7 separate regions of the Homo sapiens genome follow, and all the other regions are linked to region 1. The links are contacts of gene promoters, found by promoter capture Hi-C in human tissues and cell types (Jung and others, 2019). All regions are on one chromosome and are shown on one strand. Each heading gives the region's core, a stretch centred on a gene start or on the middle of the fragment in contact. The rest is flanking DNA. Distances are from core to core; before and after follow the strand shown. Region 1 holds the start of LRFN5 (leucine rich repeat and fibronectin type III domain containing 5). Region 2 has its middle 240 kb from the start of LRFN5-DT. Region 3 overlaps LRFN5 (leucine rich repeat and fibronectin type III domain containing 5). Region 4 has its middle 200 kb from the start of LRFN5-DT. Region 5 overlaps LRFN5 (leucine rich repeat and fibronectin type III domain containing 5). Region 6 has its middle 180 kb from the start of LRFN5-DT. Region 7 overlaps LRFN5 (leucine rich repeat and fibronectin type III domain containing 5).

Evidence for each region. Contacts are between HindIII fragments. The study calls those that stand out against the background at their distance.
Region 2: a fragment that was not itself captured here is called in contact with the fragment with the promoter of LRFN5 in region 1 in 6 of the 25 tissues and cell types used here (H1 embryonic stem cells, mesenchymal stem cells, neural progenitor cells and 3 more).
Region 3: a contact is called between a fragment that was not itself captured here and the fragment with the promoter of LRFN5 in region 1, in 2 of the 25 tissues and cell types used here (dorsolateral prefrontal cortex and mesendoderm cells).
Region 4: a fragment that was not itself captured here is called in contact with the fragment with the promoter of LRFN5 in region 1 in 2 of the 25 tissues and cell types used here (dorsolateral prefrontal cortex and mesendoderm cells).
Region 5: a fragment that was not itself captured here is called in contact with the fragment with the promoter of LRFN5 in region 1 in 1 of the 25 tissues and cell types used here (dorsolateral prefrontal cortex).
Region 6: a fragment that was not itself captured here is called in contact with the fragment with the promoter of LRFN5 in region 1 in 6 of the 25 tissues and cell types used here (H1 embryonic stem cells, adrenal gland, bladder and 3 more).
Region 7: a fragment that was not itself captured here is called in contact with the fragment with the promoter of LRFN5 in region 1 in 1 of the 25 tissues and cell types used here (dorsolateral prefrontal cortex).

What each region holds. Positions count from the first base shown.
Region 1 is chr14:41,604,715-41,608,655 of GRCh38, reverse strand. It overlaps LRFN5 (leucine rich repeat and fibronectin type III domain containing 5), which reads right to left and starts at 1,780. Exons shown (of 6, transcript NM_152447.5): 1 at 94-1,780. The HindIII fragment of the contact is 3,229 bases long and covers 399-3,627 here.
Region 2 is chr14:41,352,064-41,356,004 of GRCh38, reverse strand. No RefSeq gene overlaps it. Among named protein-coding and RNA genes, the nearest start is that of LRFN5-DT, 240 kb to the left of the region's middle. The HindIII fragment of the contact is 3,862 bases long and covers 221-3,941 here.
Region 3 is chr14:41,827,458-41,831,398 of GRCh38, reverse strand. All of the region lies in intron 2 of LRFN5 (leucine rich repeat and fibronectin type III domain containing 5), which reads right to left. Among named protein-coding and RNA genes, the nearest start is that of LRFN5, 220 kb to the right of the region's middle. The HindIII fragment of the contact is 6,945 bases long and covers 1-3,941 here.
Region 4 is chr14:41,388,667-41,392,607 of GRCh38, reverse strand. No RefSeq gene overlaps it. Among named protein-coding and RNA genes, the nearest start is that of LRFN5-DT, 200 kb to the left of the region's middle. The HindIII fragment of the contact is 4,179 bases long and covers 102-3,941 here.
Region 5 is chr14:41,811,490-41,815,430 of GRCh38, reverse strand. All of the region lies in intron 2 of LRFN5 (leucine rich repeat and fibronectin type III domain containing 5), which reads right to left. Among named protein-coding and RNA genes, the nearest start is that of LRFN5, 210 kb to the right of the region's middle. The HindIII fragment of the contact is 5,230 bases long and covers 1-3,941 here.
Region 6 is chr14:41,414,261-41,418,201 of GRCh38, reverse strand. No RefSeq gene overlaps it. Among named protein-coding and RNA genes, the nearest start is that of LRFN5-DT, 180 kb to the left of the region's middle. The HindIII fragment of the contact is 6,754 bases long and covers 1-3,941 here.
Region 7 is chr14:41,789,093-41,793,033 of GRCh38, reverse strand. All of the region lies in intron 2 of LRFN5 (leucine rich repeat and fibronectin type III domain containing 5), which reads right to left. Among named protein-coding and RNA genes, the nearest start is that of LRFN5, 180 kb to the right of the region's middle. The HindIII fragment of the contact is 5,559 bases long and covers 1-3,941 here.

The sequences.
Region 1 (3,941 bases), core at 531-3,030:
CATTAATAAGTAAAGTAGCCTGCAATGCAGATAAGACACTAGAAACAAGATCAAAAGGAAATTGGGTGAGGCGAGTAATCGTTGGTTTGTTACCTGGTGCCTCTAAGGGAAAAGACGGTCGTAGGAAGACTTTCTGCCTGCAGGTACAATCCCGGCAAGGTGGCTCCAGGTGGCTTTCACAGTCGTACGCGGGTCTCGCTCGTCACTTCGCTGCCCTTTGCCATAGCTCAGCACCCGCATCGTAGGGAATCGGAAAGGCGGCTCCTGCCACTGCCGCCGCTGCCCGCAGGTCGCTCTGGGTGGGGGAATCGCTGCAATCGCCCCATGAAACCCGCGGCTCCGCGCCCGGGGAGCGGGCAGAGGCAGGGCGGCCGCGCACGCACACACAGACACACGCTCACACTCACACACACTCGCACCCGGGCGCGCGCGCACTTGCACTCACACTCGCACACGCACACCCAGCACTGCACGGGGAGGAAGCAGCACGGAGGGAACCGGTCCTTCTCACGATTGGCTTCGAAGCCCACCGGACCGCGGGCAGCAAAGAGAGCGTTCTCGCATAGCCCTTTAATCACGTTTCCTTCAAGTTCTCCTCCAACCCGAATCCACGTAATTCAAGAGCTGGTGACATTTTGGTGGGGAGGAGGGAGCCGAGAAAGGGCTGAGGAAGAGTCGGGGATTTTGTTAAGCAGTTTAATAAGCAATCCTCATTACCTTATTTGTTTTGTTTTGTTTTGTATAGCAAACCAGTTCGAAGGGCTGAACTTTTGGCTTCAAATGCTGTGAACCAAAACGTAAATATCCTTCTGGCCAAGAGAAGAAGGTGTAGATACACGGAAACAAGAGGGCTGCAAGACACTCTCTTGACCTTGTGATGTACCTGGAAGCAGGTTAATATTGGCGCTTTCCAAGCTTCTGGGTAAAGCGATCCACACACCTGGGTCCACAGCCCAGCAGCCGCTCCAAATCCAGCCAGGAAAATGGGTCTGGGCGTCCTCAGAGCTCTGCAAGAACCCGGGCATGAAGGGGCATCGCCGAGTTAACACATTTGCTTCTGGGCAGTTGGATAAAAGACAGTCAAATGCATCAGATAGGCGCGCGCGTACACACGCGCGCGCACACACACACGCAGCTAGCTGGAAAGCGGCTTACAAAACACTAGAGACATGCCAAGATGACTTGAAAAGGTAGCCAACATCCAGGATCTTTCCGGAACACAGAAGGGCCAGCAGGGAGGTTATCAAAGTCTTCTCAAGTCTTTCAATTCTTCCTCTCTCCTCTGAGTGTGTGTGTGTCTGTCTAGGTTTCGTTGGTCTGCCCCACCCCCGTCCAGTTGCGCTTTTTTTTTCTGATATAACGGACCGTGCAAAATGGATTATATGGGTGGGCTGTGTTCACAGCCAGAGCTCCCCAAAGTCAAGGATCCTAAGGGAGCAGCCAGCTGCTAAACAATTCACATCCTCAAGGGAAGAAGGAAAAACACGCTCAAACACACGCAAACACGCGCACACACATACATAGTCCTCCGTTCGGGCAGCTCTGCACACGCTCACCGCCTCCCTGCGCGCCGCGGAACACAGCGCCCCGCCCGCTGGCCACCGCGCTGGGGCGAGTCCGCAGTTCAGGCGCGAGGCAAGCAGCCGAGGTCCGGGGCTGCGGCCGCGGCCGGGGCGGACCCGGGAGCTGGGCTTCCCAAAGCGTCGCGTGTGGGCAACGGCGGCCTCCTGGCCGCGTGGAACTGAGCCCTGCGCTGCAGCATGAAGGCGGCGGCGGCGGCGGCGGCGGGCGCGCGGCCGTGAGCTCAGCCCGCGCTGCAGTGACGGGAGCGGCCGTGTCGGCCAGACCCCGAGAGTCCGTGAGACCCCGGCCGGGGCCGCTCCGCTGCTGTCAGCCCTCGGGCCTCCCAGCCAGACTGGTTCTGAACCGATTTATCAGGGGGTTGCGGAGAGGGCCGGCGAAGCGCCAGGAAATCCCCAGGCTGAGGAGGCGCGGGGGCGTTGCAGGAAGGGGGAAGGGAAAAGGCAGAAAACCTGGAGAATGAAAGCGAACTTCCAGGGGCGTCCCCAGCCTCCTGCAAAAGGGCAATTTGCTGATCGCCCACTTCCTCGCAGTTACGGGATAGAGAGAATCATCACTGAGTCAAGCTTCGGCTGCTTAGGGCGGTGGGAAAAGTCATTATCTATAATAACCCGCCGGAAATTTTGAGGAGAGCTACTGACTTGGGGGTTTCAGTCATCTGAGGCTGGCTTCCGCTGTCCCCTTAGTTGTGGGTGGTGATTTGCTTACTAATCAGATGGGAGCGGATTCTGAAAAGAACATTTATATTTGGGAATCAACTCAGCTCAGCATCAGACATTACGAATACTGCAGTTGGTCACATTTTACTATGTGAAGGGCAGAAAGGGAGCCCAACAGTCTTCATAAGCCAGACCTAGTCTCTAAGGTCACCGGCACAGACGCAGGGTCTAAAGCAGGAAAGAGGTGCGACTGGAAAGGAGGTTAGACAGGGCCCTGCGGGAATGGATCTGCCCGGAGCCCTCGCCTGGTTTTGCTTGAGACTCCGACAAGACTCCCAATGCTTCTCTCCCCGACCCTATCCCCACTCCCTCCATCCTGGAAAAGCCAGTGAGCAAAGTTAACTCTTTCTTCTAAGAAACCCTGAGTGAAATCTTGCTCTTCCTTTCTGCTAGAGTCCTGAAACCCTTTCGCTTCTCATTGTGGGTTCACCAGCACGTGGTCTTCGGACACTGAGAGCACCTTCGCTCTCAGCTGTGATCCTAGCTAGCCCAGACACCAGTCTGTACCCAAAGGAAGAGTAGGAAGTTGCAAAGGGAAGCTGGCTAACAAGGGCTTCTTCTGCCCTACTTGGCAAAGGCCCATACGGGTGGCCTCCGTGGATATGGAGCTCCTTCATTTTGTTCCAAAAAGAGCTCTGCCAGGCTTTACCATTGCCCTGGAGGTGCACAGGCGCCCGTATACTCGAGCACAACCATGGGCTCACCCCAAGCGCGCACACCTGCACCCACGCGTAAGGAAGAACCACACAGCTATCTCTGTCGGGGAAGAACACGAGGAGTGAAGTGCTTTAGGTGGAAACTCCTCACATCTCCTTTCTTTCCTCTGCTCCCCCTCTCTGCCCCTGGTACTCCGGATCCAATCCTTGGCTTAGGAATCCACTCAAGCCACGTCTGGCTGCTTTGTTCCAGAGGAGCGCAGCTCCGAGACTGCACTTCAGCGGTGCAGCCTCCCTCCAGGTCGGCGAGCGGCGCCAGATCCGGGACTTCAGGGTCTCCGCGGGAGCTTAGGAGGCTCAGGATCTGAGTTGGAGAGCTGGAAGGCCAAACTCCGAGCCGCTGAGGGACTGCGCAGGAAGACCACAGAAATAAACCAAAGGGACACCGCGGACAGATGTACCAGAGGACACCACTGAAGTCCAGGAGAATCTCCACCAAAACCATCAGCGTTTTCCTTGTAGCTTTCTGTCCCTCGAAGTGGAAAGTTGAGGTTTCTGAGAAGTCCACGGAGAGAACCTGCAGCAAACTGAAGCCACAGACTCCGAAGGCATAGGGAGAAAAAATGCTTCCATCCCCCTTTCACTTTAAACTTGATCGCTTCTGGGACTTCACTGGAGGGCGGTGGAGTTGCACCAACCTGGAGTACAGGCAGATCCCAGCGAGCACTTCCAAGTACTTTAGGACGTGGGGGTGACTCTTTTTTCTTCAGGATTGTCCCACTTGCCACCCTTTCCAGCTGAGCTGATAGGAACCAATGAAAGTCTAGGCGATGAGGATTTTCCGTTACCTCAGGGATCAAAGTATAAAATGTTGAATGAGAAACCCGAAGACCTTGCATCGCTGGGCTGAATAACTTGTTTTCTTTTTTATGGTGTCCAGACTGAGGTAGGGAGGGGACACACTGACCTAGCTGTAAGAAGTCAA
Region 2 (3,941 bases), core at 902-3,401, 250 kb after region 1:
TAGGACTTTAAGCACACATAACCAGGATCCTATGCTCAAATAAGAACATGCTCAATAGCTGAACAGTTTAATGAGTTTATCCACCCTTTAAATGATATTTTGGCCCAAATGCTTAACTGAAGTAAATTGCAGGATTAAAATGAAACCATTGGAGTGAAAAAGCAACTCATTAACTGATGTTATACTATATCACTATATTTTTTAAATGAATGATTACTATTCTTTTCGACGTAACTTAAACATAAATGATGCCTCATTAAATACTATAGGATAAGTCATTTGTTAATAGTGGCCAGTTACATTGGGTTAATTAAAACTGTTTTCTGCTTACAGAAAAAGAATGTTTAAGAAAATTTATTTTTTTATATGTCATACTGGACCACCATTGGTATTCTTAGATATCTGAGAAATTTTCTTATTTGTAGCATGACTAATAGCTTCATTCACTAAAAACAGAACATAGAAGAGAAGCAGTTTTGAGAAAAAAGAAATAGTGAGTGTCGCCAACTGAGAAGAGTATGCAATTTTACTCTACTTGCAAACTAACAATTTAGACAGTGGAAGAAGACATGAGATTACTGAAGCAGAGACAAAAGGCATTAATAGCCACAGAAAAAGCAGTAACCAGTGTGTCAGAAAGTTTATGCTTATTCTCTGACCCCTAATTGCACTGGGCAATATGGAGGGACAGATTATGCCTGCATAGGAAGGGGTTTGTCTTACAGGAGACGATCCCAGGGCCAAGGGCCCAGTACTTTCTGAGTTAGCAGCAAACTTGGTAGCAAGCAGCAAACAAGCCAGTCTTCCTCCCTCCAGGGAGCAAGACTTTACATGGTCATCATTCCCTTGTGGGCTTGAGCTACATAGTTGCCTATGTGGCTAATTACCGAACTACTTATAATTAAGAGAAGAATGTCTTGAGGGTGAGCACAGTAAGCAAAATGTGCAAAAACACTCAGGGTCTATGGTGGACCTCCCTCCAAACAGTGGTAATCGGTTTAAATTTTTTGCTTAGGCACTTAAATTGAAATATTCATCTAAAGCTTAGTTTATCACGCAATACCACCCTGGAGGAAGACTACAACATGGGTTTAAGAAACAAAGAAATGTCATAACGAAAATAATTTAGACTGCAATTTACCCTCCTCAAATTGCCTCCTCCCTCAATAGAGTTCTTAATTCTTTCTTTGTTGGCTGTTTCCCTGTTACTGTTGACACAGGTCTTTATTTAGCTTTATGTTAGTCCAGGTCCTCAGAGAAGCAAAAACCAAGAGAAAAGGAGAAATAAATTGGGAAGACTGGGATAGCCATCAGATCGCTACGCAAATCTAACACAACATAAAGGGATAAGGGAAGAAGAGAGTTTTGATGGAAAAGTCCTAGACTGAGGCATGTCTGACAAGGCCTTAAGCATTCTTTAGCCTAAGGAGCCATATGTCTCCCAGGAAATGGCCTGCTCAGTATCCTATGGAGCTTAGTAATTGGCTGGGAGCAGCACATAGAAGCGTGGTCTCTGCACAAACACAGCCGTAATCTCAGAGCAGCCTCTCATGGCCTAGGCCAGTTATGCTCCCTGTAGTTGGAGGTCTGCAAGGTACAGCCTCATGGCTGCCACAGTCTCTTTCTAAATAACATATTAATTCAGTGCTGCTTCCACTGATGAATGAAATATTCTTATATTTCTTAGAGGTTTTTCACTATTATTTGTACTTTCAATTAGCTCCAACATACATAGCTTTTGGAAAGCCATGCAGATGGAACCTTAAAGGCTGAATTTGTTGGAATATGTAATTAAGGCAGAAAAGGTCTCCTCACAGCATTAAAAAAGCATTAAAAAATAAAGTATGGTATGTTGAATGTATAAATGAATGAATAAAATTACACTGCCAGGGAAATATTATATTTTGGTACATTATGTGTCCTGTTGAAGGGGGAACATCCTGTTACAAGAAGGATGAGGGAAAGATAAGACAGGCAATGAAAATACGAACCGCAATATTGAAAATTTTAAAATACAACCTGTTTTATATATACAGTGGAATACTATTCATCCACAAAAAATGAATAAAAGCATATCTTTTGCAGAAAGATGTGCAGAACTGGAGGCCACTATCCTAACTGAAATAACTCAGAAAGTTAAATATCCATATTCTCACTTAAAAGTTGGGAGCTAAGTAATGTGTATACATAGAGTGTGAAATAATAGTCATTGGAAACTCGGAAGGGTGGGGAAGTGTGAGGAAAGTGGGGTTGAGAAATTACTTAATAGGTACAATGTACATTATTTGGGTGATGGTTACACTAAGAGCCCAGACATCACCACTATGCAATATATCCATGTAACAAAACTGTACTAAGTGCATTGTGTCTCTTAAGTTAATATAAATAAACTTTCAAGTACTTCAAAGGGCAAAACTGATCTACTTTTGAGCAAATTGACTGAAACTGAAAGTTTCAGTGTTGATGTTATTATTGTCTTGGATATAAGATTATAAAGGTTGAGTTTTTAAAAGGTATATGTATTTCATGTATATCTCACAGCATAAGCAAATGAAGTGTTTGAAATAGTTTTCTGTCTATAAAACATTTTACAGAAATATACTATTAGCATGTTTATTGTAACAAAATTTACAACTGACATAAATTAAATATAGAGCAGATTTTGTATGTTTAGCTTTGTATACAATGTGCCTCTAACCAAGAGTTTCAATTACTTAGACATCAATATCTAATTGTTGACTAAATGACTGAAAAATTCATGCGATTTTAATTTTTCTCATAAATCAATAAACTCATGATTACATATGTCAAGGATAAAGTATAATACTGTGCGTAAACCAATTTTATGATTTAAACATAATTTGTATTGGATTTGTTTACAGATATATTTGGATTTATTTTTTACATAGTAGAGTGACAGATTACTCACTAATCTGACCTTTAAATCATGTGTTTTGTGTTTTCATACTGGTGATATTTTCACATAATTGATTTGCCCATTTCAAGTAAGGATTTTAAGTAGGTTTTTGTAAGAGCTATACTAATATAGTTGAAAAGTTTTATTTATGAATTAATAGATTGTAGTAATTGATATCATGTTATTGTAGCTGAAAAAAATTGGAGATTTTAGAACATGTTCTGTCTTTCCAAAATTGTTAATATTGCCCAAGTCTCTCTGATCATTGAATGAAAGCTTTTTACAGCTTTAGGGGAAGGGCAGAGACATCCTAAAGAATGAAAGTTAGTTCAGCTTCACAATGGCTGAAAGTATAATGGTGATTACCAGAGTCTGGGGAGGGTAGGGGGAGCAGGGAAGGATTAAGAGAGGTTGATGAATGGGTACAAAAATACAGTTAGTTCAGGGGTGTCCAATATTTTGTTTTTCCTGGGCCACATTGGAAGAAAAATTGTCTTGGGCTACACATAAAATACACTAACATTAACAATTGCTGATGCCCTAAAAAAAATCACAAAAAAAAAAATCTCATAGTGTTTTAAAAAAGTTTATAAAGCTGTCCTGGGCCACATGCAGCCCATAGGCCTCATGTTGGACAAGCTTGAGTTAGATAAAAGAAATAGGTACTAGTGTTTGATAGCATAGTAGAGTGACTATAATTAACAATAATTTTTGTATATTTTGAAATAGATAGAAAATTTGGAACATTTCCAACACAAAGAAATTATAAATGTTTGAAGTGATGGATATCTGTTATCCTGATTTGATCATTACACATTGTACACATGTATCAAAATATCACCTGAACCTCATAAATATGTACAATGATAATGTATCAATAAAAAATAAAATATTTCCTTATATTTATCTTCAAAGAAAAGTACAAGGCAGAGTATTGGCTTGAAACCAAACTCATATCAGTGAGATAGAAAATAGTTCTTCCTTGAAATCCGAAAGATCCTGGAGTGAAATATTAAGTTAGAAT
Region 3 (3,941 bases), core at 766-3,265, 220 kb before region 1:
ATAGAATGTGTGTTTATGTCTATGTATGTATAAGCAAACATTACACATACAAAATTATTATACTTTACTCATTCTCCTATTCATAAAATGTGTTAGTAGTGATTAAGTTATATCTCAGTATTTAAGTTACAAGCTATCAAAGAAGAATGGTGTGACTCAGCTAGTAAAAAAATAAACATTATTAAAAGACGGGTAATGTAACACATATCCTCTTTGTATTCTTTTTTGGAGAGAAGGTTAGCATGTTTTCAATTGTATAAGGTACAGCTACATGGGCTTTCTAACTCACTTTATTCAAAATAAACAGATGATTAAGAAAATGAAATATAAATACTGAGTTTTTAAGAGTGACAAGAGTGGTGATAGACTGTATAAAGTTGTAAGCTGGAGCAATGTTTCCCAGAATTTCTAGTATAAACAGTGGTTGCCTAAAGATAAATTTCTGTGAGATGTAGAAGAAAGAAATGACGCAACAGCTACTAATCTCTGAAGGCTGTTGCAGTCAGATGAGAGAAGAGGCAACTCAGAGGAGCTGGCAGGTTGCAGCTTGTCCTGGCTTCCCTTGTTCCATGGCCAGTTCTTTCCAACTGCTGACACTGCTGACCAACAGGCCCACCAGGAGACAGAGCAGGAGCAGCCTTTCACACACATCTCTATCAACTTCCCTTTATGGTTCCCCTCTGGCAAGTCAGCATCCCCAGCTTCCCTGCAGCTCAGGTTTATCTACCTGAGCCAGCACTGCAGGAGTGCTAGTTTCTGACTCTTCTCTGACTCTCCAAGTGCTATTTCTGGACTTCATCTCCTATAATTCATTCTTTATTCTTCAAAATTTATAGTAGCTCTGCTTTCCTGATCAACACTGACTGATATAGAAGGGTGTATTTATGAAAATATGAGGTACTCTAAAGATAAATCTTTCACAATATTCAATATATCAAACAGCAGTATTGAAATCAAAGATAAAGCTGATGGGAAACATTAATAAAACCCTTTAAATATTTTATTAACAGTATTTAATAGATTGAGCTTTGACTTTTAAGGATCATATTTTTGAAAGCTAAGTTAGAATTCAAAATATATGAGTATTATTACATATGAGTATTGATCATGAAATAAGCCAGAAAGAGAAATTTTGCAATATCAAAAACAACAATAAAAAACATGAAAAGTTGTATGGGCTACATAACACTACTACAATTGAAAAAAGACAGATATAAACACAAGAAATATAAACCACAGATTTATAAGTTTATAATACAAGTTAAAATTTATAAGATTTATAATACAAGTTAAAATAATTGTATGATCTGAAATAAAATGAAATCCATAATTTAAAAATATAAGATAAATAAAGCCAAAAGTTAATTATGTATTAAGATACAATTAGAGATAAATCCAAAGCTCTAAATAGTAAGTTTATTTATGTATTAAGTAATACAATTAGAGATAAATCCAAAGCTCTAAATAGTTTCATAGTTAATAATGAACAAAATATAGATGAACTAAGCATTCAAGTAAATACATTTTAAAAAGAGACAAAGAAAATAATTTGAGAAAAGAATAAAAAGGTTGTATAAATGTTACAGCAGAAATTTAAAAAAAAAGTATTACTAAAAAAAGGTGTGGAATCAGAAAGTTCAAAAAATATTGACTTAGCAAAAAAAAGCAAATAGTTTAATTAATAAAAAGGTAAGCACACACACAAATATATAATATTTGAAATGAACAAAGGAATATAACCACTTAATGAAAGGGAATTTTATAAACAAAGATATATTTGAAGTCATTAAGAAAATAACCAGATTAATTCAGAAAAAAAAGATAAAAATCAAGAGGAACACAACCATTAATAGACCTGGATAATATGGTTTATAATTTACCTCATTCAAGATAAGGTCAATCAGATAAACAGACCACCAGACAGTGTCGACAATTTGTCTGAAATTGCTCATCTCATCATAAATTCTATTTAAAAAACTAATGTTTTCATGAAATATACTTTTAAAAATAAATCAAAAGGAAGATATGAGTTTTTTGTGGATTTGAGTACTCATGATCTCTGTGGCTCTTTTGTTAATATTGACATTTAATGTAATTATCTTCAAAAATTCATTCATGGGTTGTGGTTTTATGTTATCTGTAAGGAAATGTAACAAAATCAGTTCTATGTTCACAGAACTAATCTCTGTCTTCATAGAATGCAGAGTATAGTGGAGGTGGAGGTGACAAATATTAAACATGTAATTATGCAAATGACATATAAAGAAGAAGCAGTGTACTCTAGGATTGTGAAACTAGGAGTGATTTTATCATCAGAGAAGTAAGAAGAAGGTTTTCTGAGGAAATAAAAATTAAGCTAATAAATGAGTAATGGTTAAGTCATAAAATGTGGGAGAAGGATAAATGAAGAGAGAGGGAAGATTATTATAAGAAAAGACATTATGTGTAATATCTCATATTAGGAAAGACAGCTTTAGAACAACTGAAAAAGGATCATGAATCTGATGCCTGTTGTAAGGAAATTGCATCAGGTAAGTCTAGAGAGGTCATAAAATAAAGTCCATTGTAAGCATTTTCAACTTTAAGAAAAATGATCTAGTAGTTAATTTGAGATTGGAGAAAGTTATAACATTATTACTCAAAGTGAGAAATAGTAGTGTCCCTGACTATCACAGTGTTGACAATAGAAGCTTGAGATTTAGTGAAGAGATTTGGGAGTTAATTTTGCTGGAGAATCAATAGGACTTATTTTCTTATTAGGTTTGAATAGGTAAACAAATGGACAGTTGCCATAAAGGACTTCCAGATTTCTGACTTGAGGAATACTACATGGAGAAAAGTGGGAAAAAAGGAATAGGTTTCAGAAAACGATCATGAGTTTGGTATTAAACATGTTGATTTGGATGTGCTTGTTAAAGAAGCATTTGTTTAGTATGTAACATTTCTTCATCAACTACTTGATCTGTTTGCTTTAGGGTAGAAGTTGTGAAGAATGCAAATAAACTTGATTCTACTAGCACTACTACCCTCTCTAGCTAATCTGATGCCTACAAAATAGATGATTTGTTTGAATTTCAAATCTTGATCTGTGAATATTATTTTTTTGAGAAAACACACGTTATTAGGTTAATTAATATCCTATAATAACAGCAATAACTTAAGAAGAAGTTGTATTTAGATAATAAATGAAAGAAACTATTTTGAGTTTGAAAGGTTTTCTTCAAATCTAAAATCTAAAACGTACAGTCTGTTCTACTGACATAAAGTTTATGACTAGAAAAAGCTGAAAAAAGCTGACCTATTTCCCTTTAACTTACTTCAGTTTCATGATATAACAATACATACTTATTTTTACTGTGAACAGATATAGTCCCCTTGTGACATGAACCAAATGCTCAACATTAAGGACAACCTTGAAGCAAGTGCAAATTTGAAGGGTAATAGTTGAAACTTTTGAGAATAAAAGCACATAATCAAGGCAACTGGCAAGGAAGATCATGTATGTTACATTTCTTTTTACTGCTAAAATAAAGTAGGAGAACAGAAAGATGTAAATGAGAACTAGTTCCCAAATTTAGAAACATATAAGCAATGAAATGTGTTGGTATTTCAGGCAATTATAAACAAATAAAAAATTGTTAAAACAAATGGTTCTAAATTTTAAGTTTGGAAAGATATAGTAATCTTATTCAAATATAATTAATTTTGCTTTAATTGGTTAACGAGTAGCAGGTCTATGGTTTTGTTTTCATAGTTTTTGGAATTTATGTCAAGGAAAAATTAATATCAGATGGTGCCCAGAATTTCAGGGAATGGCTAATGAATGTGCCATTCATTTTTTTCATTTTTAAAAAATTTTCCTTTGATACATTTTGCCTCGATTATTTTTCAGTGTATGTGGCTTGATATTTCCTCTAGCAAATAAAAATATATACTTACCA
Region 4 (3,941 bases), core at 942-3,441, 220 kb after region 1:
AGGGGTCATTTATGCTTTCCTTTGGGAATTTAGCTCTGCTCTTGATAAATTTACTTCTAAAGTATTGCCTTTACTTTGCAGTTTGTCTAGGATGCAGTGCAGGGAGAAAGCATGATGAAGTCATAGTAATAATAGCACCTTAACAATGTAAGAAGTTAACCATAGGGTAACCAGCAAGAAAAGACAAGCTGGCTGTGTTCTCAGGGGTCTCGTGAATGTCATCATCTTATTGAACTTCCTAAGATAAAGGGCTCTGGCCGTAATCATCGTCAGCTGAATAAATGTAGCTACTCTATATTTCTGTAAAGAAAGGACTTCAAGGAAGCAGTGCTTAGAGGATAGCTGGAATCTATGGTACTATCTTTAGGCTGAAATATATATGGCAAGATCACTGATTTTAATTAGATTTTATGGTTTTGGGGATGACTAGGATGAAAAATTCTGAAGACTAAGCAACAAACAAAAACAACCCCTCTTAAACTAAACCTAGATATAACCACAGATAAAACATCTTAAACTGTTAAGTTGAGAATGGGTTGTCTGCTTAGGTTTAGATTCAAATTTACCAGCCCCATACATCTGATTTTAAAACTAAATAACACATCTTTTGTTACCAAAGGTATACAGAACAGAGTTGTCTGGTTTCAGTAGAATCTTGATGTTTTGAGACCCTTCTGTCTTTTCAAGGTGACTTTGCCTTACCAGTTTTATGATAATTCTATGTTTTAACTCTCAGAGCAATTGGAGCAATTTTACTCCCCTTATTTTAATTTTTTTGAAGGAAATATGGTAGCTCCCATATAAAAATTGCAAGTTTCTTTTGGGACACTAACACAGTAGCGTAATGAGTCCAGTTATTTCTTTTCATCTAGTGTTTGAAACCAGCAGAAGTTCGCTTGACCACCAAATGACATTACATCTCAGGTATGTTTTTTTACCGAGGAATGGTTCAGGGAAGATTGGGTGGCAAGTAAATAAGATAGAATCTAAAAAGTAAGCTGCTGGTATTCAAATCTTATATATCCAATTACTGAGGAAATACCTCAGCACCTCTCCAAACTGTGCTTCTCTTTAATTCCCACACCATGACATGGTTCAGGCCTCATTATTTCTTATGTAGATTAATACATCAACCTTCTAATTGGCATTCCCTGTCATCAGTCTTATCCCTCCTCCAATCTACCTTCCTTATGGTTACCATAGTAATCTTTCCTCAGCAGAAAATGCAATGATATCACTTCTTTGCTAAAAATTCTCCAATGCCTCTCACAGCCTGCAATATAAAGTCCAGATTCTGAACCATGTTATATAATTCCTGTCTCACATAATAACCCTGATGGGTCACTGTATAACCTCATTATACATGATTCTTGAAATTATTTAACTACTCTCAGTTTCTGGAAAGTATATTGCTTTCTTTTGCTTATTTATTTGACCTTCATACTTTTTTCAGTCACTATCTGGAATGCCCCCTTTTTCCAAGCCCTCCAGACTCATCTGTAATAACACCTCTCCCTTGTTTACACCTTTATCTTCCCTTAGGTTTACTTTTTCTGTCATAGGCCTTATCGCATGTCGTGTATTTATATGTTTATTATTTTGTCTAGTCTTATTGCAACATCTTTTTAGTAGAAGCTTTACCTTCAGCTTCAAGAGGGTGCCAAGCTTATTTTCTTTATTTATTTTGGAATTAATGAAGAGACTCATGAATATACAAGATTCTAAAAAATTTATCAAAACCACAAAATCAAAGTGGCCTCCTATATTTTGGATACTTGTATTCTCAAAAACATTCTCCTTCCTTGAGGTCCCAACAAGATGGCAGACATTAGTTAGGAGAGACTGGACTCTAGAAAGAGATAAATCCCAGTATTTCACAAGCATAATACAATAGCGTAATTCTTGTTTATTGCCACAGTCTTAGTTGGGTGGTCAAGATAAAGACATGGCTCTCCTTCATGTAGTGATCTAGGAATTCAAGTTTCTTCCATTTTGTGGTATGCCTCTACTAGGAAAAGACAATTATTTGCCTGAAGCTAGTGGAAGGGGAATGAGATGAAGAAGAAATGTGTTTGGTTTCAATAGGCCAAAAATTGGGCTACATCACTGCTAGTCGCATTTCAGTTCCACTGTGTGGGAAAGAATTCCACACAGCTGTACTTAACTGCAAATGAGGCTGCTAAATTTCTAGCTTTATGCCCAGGGATAGGAGATCAATTTTGGTGCATGGTATAGCGTCTCTCACAAGAGGACACAGTTATTACCCATATACCCTACTCCCTTGCAGTTTCCTATCCCCCTTTCTTTTAAAGTGTGTATATCAAATAGCATGAGCTTCCAACCCATGTTCTTGATCAAAGCCCAGGTTTTCCCTAATGGTTCATAGAATTCACATATTCTTATTTTGTAAGTGTTTACACTTCTTGTTTGTCGCCTATCACATCTTATTCTGAAAGTTTGCCTCAGGTTCATTTATCAATGACTTTGGATTCTCTTGTGCTGTCTTGTACCCTTTATTTGAGTGAGAATAAGGAGTGTATGACATCTTCCAAGTGATCATTAAATATGTGATACATAGTACAAAATTTTCATATAATATTTGCTATAATGAAAGAAAATTATAGCAGAGAATAGTAACCAGTTTGAACAAACATCATCACCACTATCATCACTCCTAAAAATTGTTGAGCACATCCATCTTTACTGACAACCAATTATCTAGGTCACTACTACATTTTTGTGCCCTATGAGTACCTTTTTAAGTGCTTGCTTTTCCTTGAATCCCTTTATCCTTCTAGATTTTCAAGGCAACAAACTACAAAACATCGCCATAAAACTAGAATTTATTTTCTTTAATATATAAATCAATCCAACACAATTAAGCTGTCATGCTAAGATAAGTGTACCTTGAGACATAATTATCTTCTAATATAGAATGTTGAATGGGTACAGTGAGAATGTTGAATGGTTACTGAATGACTATGTGAGGGTTTGTTTGTTTTTACTTTTTATACTATTCTTACAGTGCTAGAAGTTGAGAAGTGTTGTTCAGTCAGCAATTTTATCCAAGTGATCTGCTCTTCCTCTCTAATTTCTTTGCATTTACATTATGAAAAGGAGACCTAAATTCATTTAATACGGTGTTAGCATGACTGATATGCTTCCATTTCTCAGAGTTCTCATTATTTATCTCAAAATTCAGGAATTTCTCTTGTTCCTTGCTTTTACTGTTTACTTTTCAGCTAGTGCAACATTCCCCACTACAGACATCTACAGCTTTTGTATTGGAAGGCTTCATCTTCAAAGCAAAAGACATGGTACAAAAAATGGAAAATTAACCAAAAATAAAGAGGAAACAATCAAAGCAACCAAAATAACAAAATTGTTGGAGCTACTGTCCTTAAAATTCTATATGGTAAGAATAGAAGATTTATGGTCCATCAGTATATTATGACACATTTAGAGAAATGATTTCAAGACTATACAACACAGACATTTTCTCTCTACCGTCTAATTCAATAATATTTGGGGTTGCTGTGAGCTCCAGGAAATGGATTATCATAGACACCTCACCTCTTTGAACATCAGGATTAATTGTGCTATTCTGATATGCCCTCTTGTATGGCATTGGAGGGAAGAATACTCCCTCAAGAATATAAAAGTAGGATTTCTATTCTTTATGTAGAAACATACATGTTAAGGGTATTGTGCACACTGTGAAGCAAGAGTTATTTTTCACAGTAGAAGAAGAGAACCTGAATCACAGTCATTAAATGGCCTTAGAAAAATATTGAAAAATAGTTCTAAGTTATTCTCCCACGTTCCCCTTTGCCATGCCTATCACATTCCTTTGCTTGTTTACTTATACTTGGAGGGATTTGTGCGTGTAAATGTATGTGCATGTGTCCAACATGGATATCTGTGGCAGGGTAGCTGCTGTG
Region 5 (3,941 bases), core at 868-3,367, 210 kb before region 1:
AAACCAGGTGAAGATTAAAAGTAAATAAGTGGAGATCCATACATCATGTTAGTACTAATCCAAAGAAAGCAAGAGTAGCTATATTGATTTCAAAGAGTAAACTTCAGACCAAGGATATTAATTACATATAAAGAGGGGCATTACACAATAATAAAGGGCAAATTCTCCATGAAAAATATAACAATTATTAACATGCATGTACCTGAAAACAGAGCATCTGTTTTGCAGAAACAAAAACTGATAGGATGGCAAGAAGAAATATATTAATTCATTATTATAGTTGGAGACTTCAACACCTGTTTATCAGAAATAAACAGATCCAGAAGGCAGAAAATCAGTAAGGACCTAGTTGAACTCAACAACACTATTAATCAACTGGATATAATGGACATCTGTAGACTACTTTGTTATTATTGGAATAGACTTTTTTTTAGTTCTTCAAGTGCCATCCATGCTTTTTTCGATGGATGTTTTTCCATGCTGTTCTTCTAATCTAAAATGCTCTTCTGCCCTCTCTTAACCAGCAATACTCTTTCTCTTTCTTCATACCAAAGCTTAAATGTTATTCCGTCTCAGAAGTGTTTCACAGTAAGTGTCCCAACTATTAGATTCACCACCCACCACCCAACACTAAAGATGCCGTCCAATTTGTCCATTTGTCTAACATATACCCAACAATGAAAAAGACATGTTTTGATGTTGACTGAATATGGCATTTCTGTAGGTTAGTTGTGACAAAATACAAAGTGGGGGGAGCAGTAATTAGAAGCACGAATTGTCAAGACAGGCCCAAGAAGACAAAGATTCTCTTAACCTAACAAGGCCAGGCCAGAACTAATACTCAAGAAATAAGGCCAACAGTTTATTAATAAAATAAATTGATGCTTCTTTCTACAGAATATGATTTAAGAAATAAATTCAAACTCTCTATGTCAAGAAATTAAGGAGAAAACTGGGTACTACCAGTAAATCTTTGTAAATAGGGTACACAGGAATCAAAGCACCTGCCTTCCTAATTAAACCTTAATTAAACCTATTGTTCAATTAGTATTTATTGATTGCCAGTAAAAAAGACCTTTTATAGTGAAGTGTAGCCCCTTTAAGACCAGAATAATAAGGTCATAATAAGAAAGGATTAGAAAAGTTGCTCTAAACATTGGCTTTCTAAATCCAATACCATTCAGGACATAGGCATAAGCAAAGAATTCATGACTAAAATACCAAAAGCAATTGCAACAAAAGCCAAAATTGACAAATGGGATCTAAAGAACTGAAGAGCTTCTGCACAGCAAAAGAAACTATCATCAGAGTGAACAGGCAATCTACAGAATGGAAGAAAAATTTTGCAATCTGTCCATCTGACAAAGGGCTAATATGCAGAATCTCAAGGAACTTAAACACATTTACAAGAAAAAAACAAACAGCCCCATCAAAAAGCGGGCAAAGGATATGAACAGACACTTTTCAGAAGAAGACATTTATGTGGCCAGCAAATATATGAAAAAAAGCTCATCATCACTGGTCATTAGAGAAATGCAAATCAAAACCACAATTAGATTAAAAAGTCAGGAAGCAACAGACGCTGGAGAGGTTGTGGAGAAATAGGAATGCTTTTACACTGTTGGTGGGGATGTAAATTAGTTCAACCATTGTGGAAGACAGTGTAGCGATTCCTCAAGGATCTAGAACTAGAAATATCATTTGACCCAGCCATCCCATTACTGGGTATATAGCCAAGGTTTTATAAATCATTCTACTGTAAAGACACACGCACACATATGTTTATTGTGGCACTATTCACAATAGCAAGGACTTGGAACCAACTTAAATGTCCATCAATGATAGATGGATAAGAAAATGTGGCACATATACACCATGGAATACTATGCAGCCATAAAAAAGAGTGAGTTCATGTCCTTTGTAGGGACATGGATGAAGCTGGAAACCATTGTTCTCAGCAAACTAACACAGGAACAGAAAACTAAACACCATTTGTTCTCACTCATAAGTGGGAGTTGAACAATGAGAACATATGGGCACAGGGAGGGGAACATCACACACCAGGGCCACAGGGGGTTGGGGGAAAGGGGAAGGATACCATTAGGAGAAATACCTAATGTAGATGGTGGGTTGATGGGTGTAGCATATCATCATGGCACATGTATACCTATGTGACAAGCCTGTACCCTCTGCACATGCATCCCAGAACTTAAACTGTAATAAAAAGAAAAATCAAAGGGATGAAATTGTTAATGTAATTGTTCTCTGTAGTTAGTTGAAAACAGATTTGAGTGGACTATTAACAAATGTAGTTTAGTATTCACAGTCATCTTCAAATTATCTCTGCATAATCAGTATTAGGAATACAGCCACTTCAAAGGGTGGGAAACAACTTTCCTATCTATTTCTCATCACTTTCAACCTATATTTTCTATGCAGTTAGCATCTTTTACTTATTTTCCTCAGTTGAAAGCTACCTGTGTGTGTCTTTTCTCTAGTCTGGAACGTGATGACTTCTTCAAATCACCACCCCATTCCTGGATCTAGCACAATCTAAGTTTCTTCATGAAACTTTCCATCATTACTTACACTGCCTTGTTCTCTCCTGAAATAATTTTGGTCTATACTAAATAAAATATTGCTCAGAAGGCAATCATTTAAAACATTGTTTCATCATCAATTTTATTTTTCATCATCAATTTTATTTAACAAATTTTATTGTATTAAAATCATTTTGTTCAAGCAAAGAAAAATACAAAATTTTAATTACAATCTCTTTCAAACAGATCTTTTTGAATGTTGACTCAATAATTTATATATATATATTTATTTCTACTTCTGACATGTGGCTGAAGTTACAAAAATAAAACTGCAAGTTTTCTGTGTGCCTTTGTATATATAATTGAGAATAATCTTTGTCCATCGTTGCCCAAGTATACTAAGAAGGTACTAAGGAATCAGTACCCCCAGAAGGTACTAAGAAATTAAAAATGAATGTCTTAAAACAAAGGAGCTCTGTTCTGATTAGTTTATCACAATTCCCAGGAAATAAGGGAGCTAAAATTATAATATTATTAAGATGCTAGTCTTTAAAAAAAACTCATAGAAATTCCTAGTTAAAAATCATTTTAATATATAATAAATCCAAATTCTGTAAAAAATGAAGACCTGTTTTGATCATTTTGTTTTAAAACAATCTATGTATTATTTCTCTGATATCATTTTGGAATATATACAAGTACATATGGATTTGTGTAAGGTAATAACTCAGTTTAATTTCTGTTAAATGAAAAATTGGTTCAGAGTATTTAATTAGTTTATAATAAGGTTACCTTCTGTGTAATGTCCTAGATAGTAGATATTCCATATTCACCAGAATAACTTTTCACGCTTTGTGCTGACTTTTTAAAAGATGTTATGCTATAAAGAATTACTTTGAATTATCTTATACTCCATATTTATTTCTGTAATTATTTTAAATAGATTTATTGAAATATAAATCAATAACCATACAATGTACCCTTTTAAAGTATATAATTCAAAGGGTTCTAGTGTGTTAATGTAGTTGTACAATAACCACCACAATCGATTGTTGAACATTTTCATCACGCCAAAAATGAAACCCCCAGTCCATCAGCACTCACTCCCTACTTCTCCCAAGCCTTCCCACCTGACCCAAGTCCTAAGTAAGCACTAGTTCTTCTTTCTCTGTAGATTTTTCTATTCTGGACATTTCATACCAATGGAATCTTATAATATGGAGTCTCTCTGACTGGCTCCTTTCATTAGTGTGATGAAGATTCATGCACTTTGTAGTACATATCATTACTTTATTCCTTTTTATTAATAAACAATAGTTCACTGTGTATATACCATGTTTATTTATGGATTTATCAGTTGATAGTTCCCTGGGTTGTTTCCATTTTTGGGCTATTATGAAT
Region 6 (3,941 bases), core at 791-3,290, 190 kb after region 1:
CTTGGGAGAAATGAATGTATAGTATGATATAACATAATGAATTTAAAAACTCAATAATATCTTTCTCGATAATATCTTTATAATGTACAATAAAAAGCTCATAGGACTATTTATTACAAGAATCCTTAATATAAATAGATGTTATTACTAAAAAGGGTAATTAAAGAAAATTACATTTTTCAAGGGTCCAACAACATGCAGTGTAGATAACTATATATGTTTTTTGCTTTTTATAGGAAGGAGAAAAAATGGATTTTTCTCTGACACTCTAGTCAATGTTCAATCTTTTCCTTTCAGTATGATATAGCTACCATTAGTCTAGAAACAACTAATTTGGTCTTAACATGCTCAATATAAAATGATAATATAGACGAGGGATCACCAAACTTTTTTTGTAAATGGCCAGATGGTAAATAGTTTAAGCTCTGCAGGCCATATTGTCTCTGTTATAACTATTTAATAGCCACTCAAGGGTGAAAGCAGCCAGAGACAAAATGAATGGGCATGGCTATGTTCCAATAAAGCTGTACTTACACACACACATACAAACACACACACACACACACACAATACAACAAGTCAGATTTGTCCTTGGGGCATAGTTTGCCCATCCCCAAATGCATGAATACACAAAATAATCATGATATTCTCATTTGGGAAAAAGTATAATGAGAAACATATAGTACTTACATGTCTATAGTAATGATCAAATCTTACCATATATGAATTATAAAGTACAAATTATTTGGCTAGCTTACCTGGCAAACCATAACTCCCTGGGAAGTTCTTCCTTATTGATTTTTCATGGTCATATCTTAAGTTAACTGTGTTATGAATGCTCTTTATGGGGACTGCCAAATTCCTAACCAGCATCCTGCTGATGCAATTGTTGTGGATATGGTGGTAGAGTGGGGCTGGGGGGACTGGGAGTGTTATTCTTGGTAACTTTAGGGACTAAACAACGACTGGCTTTTGCAAGCCAAGAAGGATTTTCTGTGAAAGTGATTCTTTGACAACTTAGTTTTGGGTTTATATATAACTAATAAAAGCTACAGATCTTGCCTAGATATAGGTTGAGTCTGAAGACTGTGGTTCTTTCCTTACGGACCATGCTCAGCTCCATCCCAGTCCCTCATCTCCTCTAAATTATTGGAATATCTTTGGAAACCATATGATTAAAGAGGCTCAGATGAGATGGCAACATCTTATTCCTGTCGTTGACTGCAGGCTTGTGTCCTTGTATGCCAAGATAACTGTCCTCTTCTTTCTTTTCTTAAATTTTATTTTATTTTTCCATAAGTTATTGGGGAACCAGTGGTATTTGGTTACATGAGTAAGTTCTTTAGTGGTGATTTGTGAGATCCTGGTGCACCCATCACCTGAGCAGTATACACTACACCACATTTATTGTATTTTTCCTTTGCCCCGCAACTCTTCCCCCCAAGTCCCCAAAGTCCACTGTATCATTCTTAAGCCTTTACATGCTCATAGCTTAGCTCCCACATATCAGTGAGAACATACAATGTTTGGCTTTCGATTCCTGAGTTACTTTACTTAGAATAATAATCTGCAATCTCATCCAGGTTATTGCAAATGCTGTTCATTCATTATTTTTTATGGCTGAGTAGTATTCCATCATATATATCTCACAATTTCTTTATTCACTCATTGATTGATGGACATTTGGGTTGACTCCACGATTTTGCAATTGTGAATTGTGCTACTATAAAGATGCATGTGCAAGTATCTTTTTTGAATAATGACTTCTTTTTCTCTGGGTAGATACTGTGGAGGAAAAGTTAAACATTAAATTTGAACTCAATTGAACATGGACACAAACAATGGTTACCAAGTCCTGGAACAGGTTGTGTGAGCCCCTTGAGGCTTCATCCAGCTCTGTTTCCAAGAAATCTCTACTTCAATCTATTCCTATACGTTAGTTATTGAAAAACAATAGAGAATCACAAAAAACAAGTTGACCTTTTTGTGTTCCTTGAGCTCAGTGGGGAAGGGCCCTCGTGACTGGGCCTCATGCCAAAAAACTTGTTACAAAAAGAGCTAGGGTCCCAGACTGTGCCAAAGCTTCATGAGACCTCTCCTCATCTCTGCACAGACGAGTGGCCGACTGTGGAGCCCAGGCTGTTCCTTCTGATTCTGGAGCCTAGGCTGTTGCTTCCCAATCTGGTGGTGAATCCTCCATAGTCTGGTGAGTGTAAATATCTTTTCCCTTCTCCCCTTCCTATTATAATTTGCTTATTATATCAGTCTGCTTATTGTATTAATCTGCTTATTATATCATCTGCTGATTATATCATTTTCTTATTATATCTGCTTTGCCATTACATGGGATAAAGGTTGTTTACCCTTAAACGAATTGTGTGTGCACCTTTTCCTCGCCCCACGCACATTTCTCACATGGAACAGATACCCAGTAGTAGGATTGCTGGATCAAATTGTAGTTGTATTTTTACTTCTTTAAGGACTCTCAACACTGTTTTCCATAGCAGCTGTACTAGTTTACATTCCCACCAGCAGTGTAGAAGTGTTCTATGATCGCTGCATCCATGCCAACATCTACTTTTTTTTTATTCTTTGATTATAGCCATTCTTGCAGGAGTAAGGTGGTATCACATTGTAGTTTTGATTTGCGTTTCCCTGATCATTAGCGATGTTGAGAATTTTTTCACATATTTGTTGGCCATTTGTATATCTTCTTTGGAGAACTGTCTATTCATGTCCTTAACCCTGTTCTATTCTTTCAAGGCTGCCATTAAGAAGCCTCTATCACACAGGCACATCTAGAGCTAAAGGAATAAGAAATATAATATTTATCCTTGGGAGTGATGTGTCCAGATAATAATCAGGGGTGTTTTGTTTTTTCTTTTTCTTTTTTGTTGTGGTGAATGGGTAGAATGATTAGCAGAGAATAAGTAGTCTCTGTCACAGTGTCTTAGTCTTTGTGAGTATGGCTTGATCTAGGAAGTATTTTAGAATACCAAAAAGACAGTTGTGATACATGTATTTTATATAATAGGAATAATGAAGAATAAAAAATAATAATACTTTTATTAACTGAAATTTGATTTGATTTTTGGTAGCTCAAAATCATACTCACTAATAGATACGTGGAAATAATTATTCCATGCTACCAGTTGCACAGACACGTACACTTGAACAAGCAATCAAACCGAAAGTAGGTTGGCTATCATGATATTTATTTATTTTTGTATACATTTAAGGCATACAAGCATAGTTTTATTACATGGATATATTGGGGTTTTAGTGTATGGGCTTTTAATGTAATCAGCACCTGGATAGTGTACGTTACATGCATTATGTAATTTCTCATCCCTCACCCCCTTTTTATCCTCCCACAGAATCTCCAACGACTGCTACTCCACACTATTTTGTTTTGTTTTTAAGTTAAGACAAGGTGCTGTGCCATGCTAGGATATGTACCACAATGGAAGTGTTTCTTCTTTCAGTCTGAGGTGAGCTTAGTACACAGGTATAAAACAAGCTTTGATTATTTGTAGATGATTGTTTTGACTCTGTTCCCATATAAAAAGGAATGCACAATTGACACTCAAGTTCTTTCCACTCAACATTGCTGAAATTGTTTTACTCAGAAAGATTTTTAAGTCAGGGATAATCCAATGTTGTCTCAGCTTAAACAAAATATGCATAATATATTCATGTAGAGAGTGTATCACTTTGGGCAACATTATTTTACAACAATTCTGGATATACTTTTGGGAAATATACACCAAGGAATGTAAATAAGATGTCTTATTATAAATAAACACACTACTTAATAAACTTATGAAATATTTAAAAATATGTAACAAGATGTATTTTGGTTTGGAATAGTTGATGTGTAGCCCTTCTCTCCCAATTGTCAGAAAACTAAAACGTTAGCTTTCTGTTCAGCTTAAACCTGC
Region 7 (3,941 bases), core at 963-3,462, 180 kb before region 1:
CTCCCAATGCTATCCCTCCCCCCTCCCCCAACCCCACAACAGTCCCCAGAGTGTGATGTTCCCCTTCCTATGTCTATGTGTTCTCATTGTTCAATTCCCACCTATGAGTGAGAATATGCAGTGTACAAACAAAAAACCAAGTAATACTTTTATAATTTGTTATGCCTGTCTTTAATCTCTTAATCCTGTTATCTTTGTAAGCTGAGGATATAGGTCACCTCAGGACCACTGTGATAATTGTGTTACCTGTACAAATTGATTGTAAAACATGTGTGTTTGAACAAGATGAAATCAGTGCACTTTGAAAAAGAACAGAATAATAGTGATTTTTAGGGAACAAGGGAAGACAACCCTAAGGTCTGACTGCCTGCGGGGTCAGGCAAAAAGAGCCATATTTTTCTTCTTGCAGAGAGCATATAAACAGACGTGCAAGTAGGACAGATATTGCTAAATTGTTTTCCTAGCAAGGAATATTAATATTAATACTCTGGGAAAGGAATGCATTCCTGGGGGGTGGTCTATAAACGGCCACTCTGGGAGTGTGTGTTTTATGTGGTTGAGATAAGGACTGAAATATGCTCTGGTCTCCTGCAGTACCCTCAGGCTTATTAGGGTGGGGAAAAACTCCACCCTGGTAAATTTGTGGTCAGACAAGTTCTCTGCTCTCGAACCTGTTTTCTGTTGTTTAAGATGTTTATCAAGATAATACGTGCACAGCTGAACATAGACTCTTATCAGTAGTTCTGTTTTGCCTTTCGTCCTGTTCCCTCAGAAGCATGTGATCTTTGTTCTGCTTTTTGCCCTTTGAAGCATGTGATCTTTGTACCTACTCCCTGCTTTACACCCCATCCCCTTTTGAAACCCTTAATAAAAACTTGCTGGTCTGAGACTCAGGCAGACATCATGGTCCTACCGATATGTGATGTCACCCCCGGCAGCCCAGCTGTAAAATTCCTCCCTTTGTATTCTTTCTCTTTATTTCTTAGAAGGCCAACACTTATGGAAAATAGAAAGAACATCGTTGAAATATTGGGGGCGGATTCCCCTGATAATCATGTTTGCTGCAAAAGCATAATAAATTGTTATTCAACCATAATGGATAGCCAAAGGAAAGGAACTGTATTGCTTATATGATGCTTCATATTCAAAGACTCCACAGTAATTACTTCTTAGTTCATAGTGACATTCAAAAGTCTTATCTAGCATAAATTTTCAGAATAGCCTCATCTTTGAATAAAACATAGATCATAGATATTATCTCATCTCTTGCAGCAGTATTACCTGAAAGTTGAGATTAAATAATCCTCTTAATGGAAACATAGTATCATCAAAGACACTTTTATCAGTAAAAAAGCTGAACACAGTTAATCAGTGATACTGTTAACAGGAAACATTTTTTAAAATGACATGATTGTGACAAAAACTATCAACCTAAGTACTATTCAGTCTTGAAATTTTTACTTCCCATATCAGAAATGAGTAAATATTTTAGACAAAGTTAAGGGAAATAAATGGCAGTCCACTTTGACAAAATACATCATATGGAAAAAGTTGAGTCATTGTTACCTATTACTGCCTATTAATCTTACTTTATTTTCAGACATAATTGGTCACTCCTTAGAAGCAAGTACATTCATTATGCTGAGGAGACAGGTAGATAACTATAACAGAAATCTTCTACTGATACTGACTGATCATCTGCATTTGTAGAGAAAATGATACATAGCAGATCTTTTATCACCTTGCCTCCAGGTTATTGTTGATGTATTTATTTTATAATCCATAGTATAATGAGTGTCAAAACGACAATTTCAATAAAGTTGGAATGTTTTCCAAAATACTTTTTTTAAAAAAAACACTAGGTAATCAAATTGGTATTAAGGAAAAAAATATACAGATGATCTGGGTTAATAATGTTAACATTTTTAACTCTTAAAGTCAATACCATCTTTAATCACCAAATAGCATAGCAACAAAATATATAGAGTAAAACTCTGTCATACCATGAGGACAAATAGGTAAATTGAAAATAATATGTGGATATTTTAATACACATTTCTCTGTTACTGATAGACTAAAAAGAAAAAAGACATTAAGTATATAAAGGATTTAGTCACATAATTAACAGCTGAATGTATAGTGCATAATGCCCAACAATTATAAGATAAATAGTCATATCATATGCTAAAAGCTTATTTAAAAATTGGACTGTAAACTAGTTCATAAGGCATTGTCTTAACATATTTCAATCTGGAATAAAGACCATGGTTCCCTACCAAAATGAATTAAGTTTTAAATTAGTCATAACTGTTAAAAGATAAGAAACATTCCTAAATGATCGACTGATAAATAAAGTTCTTTTTTATAAATCAGAATATGCTTTAAACTCAATGGTTATTAAATACTACATATCGATAATATGTATTGCAACTAAATCAGCCCTTAAAAAAAAAAAACAAAATTAGCCTTACATGTATATTAAAGAAGAAGAGCAAATATTAATTAGCAGAAAAAGAAAATCCACCATAGTTAGGAAAAAAACATATTAAAATAAATTATGGGAGTAACGGGAAGGAAATAGTAGCGATAAGAACTGAAATTGAATAGAAAACAAACATACCAGAGAAAATATCAACAATGTCATTAGTAGTACCTTTAAAGGACAAAATGAACAAATAGTTTATACGTCACTGGTAATATTAAGAAAAAAAATAAGACTCAAATAGGAATTCCATCCAGAATGAAAAAGAGAACACTACCACAGAAAATGCAGACATAAAATAATAATAAAGTTGTTTATGCATAAGTAAATAACAATACATTTTAAAATTTAGCTTTAAAGTACAAATTCCTAGAAAAAGTGTCTCTCGAAACTAGTTTAAATGGTAATGGAAAACCTGAATAGTCCTTTAATCATCAAAGAAGTAGAATTTATAATACCACATCTTCCACAACGAAAATTCCAGGCTCAGATGTATTCACTGTAAAACTTGAGAAAGCTTTCAAGGAATAAATGATTTAAGTTATACACTAACACTCCTAAAGACTCAGAAAAGGGGAAAGTCCCCAATGCATTTTATGAGGCAGCATAACCTTGAAAGTAGAAAAAACGATAATTACAGGAAAATCACTCATAAACTCGGATGCAAATTGTTTATGAAAATATTACGAAACCAGTCAAAAAATACATTTAAAAAATCCTACCCAATAAACATTTATCCCAGGAATGCAAAGCTAGTTAAACATTATAAAATCACTATGTTTATCTTAGCAGATACAGAAAAAATGATGGGAAAATTAAAATTAGAAAAGAACAGCACACATAATCCTAGATACAAATGAAGACTCTATAGTGAAATAGAAGTGAGTGAGAGGCTAAGATGCAGAGTGTACTTTTTGAGAGTCCCTTGGGTCTGGGAGAACAGTAAATGGAGTTTGGGACTTTCCAGGTAGAGTAGCCTTTGTAGAAATACCAGAATCTTGATTGCAATAAAAATAGGCTACTCCAAAGGGCATGTGTGCATTACAAATAAGCTAGTCCTCAAAATGACTGACATTTAGGTCTGTATTCATTCAAATTCTAGTTGGATTCAAGTGAATATCAAGCGATATCAGAGAGGAGGAAGATGCCTCCAGCTTACTTGCCATTTCTAAGCAAAGGTAAATCCTCCATGTGATCTAATCTACTAAAATATTATCCATATACTGGAATTATTTCCATAATTTTTTATATCCAATAGTTGGAACAAAATTTAAAAATAAATCAGTCAAATAAAAAGGCAACAATTGACTGCATAGATACAAGTAATGGATATAATAGCAAAAAATGTAAAAGACAAGAAAATATTTGACTTACCACTTATCAGACATGGTCTTTAAAATAAATTTAATTAATATGAGCTATAAATTAAATGGCACAATTTAGAATGCTGGAAGAAAAG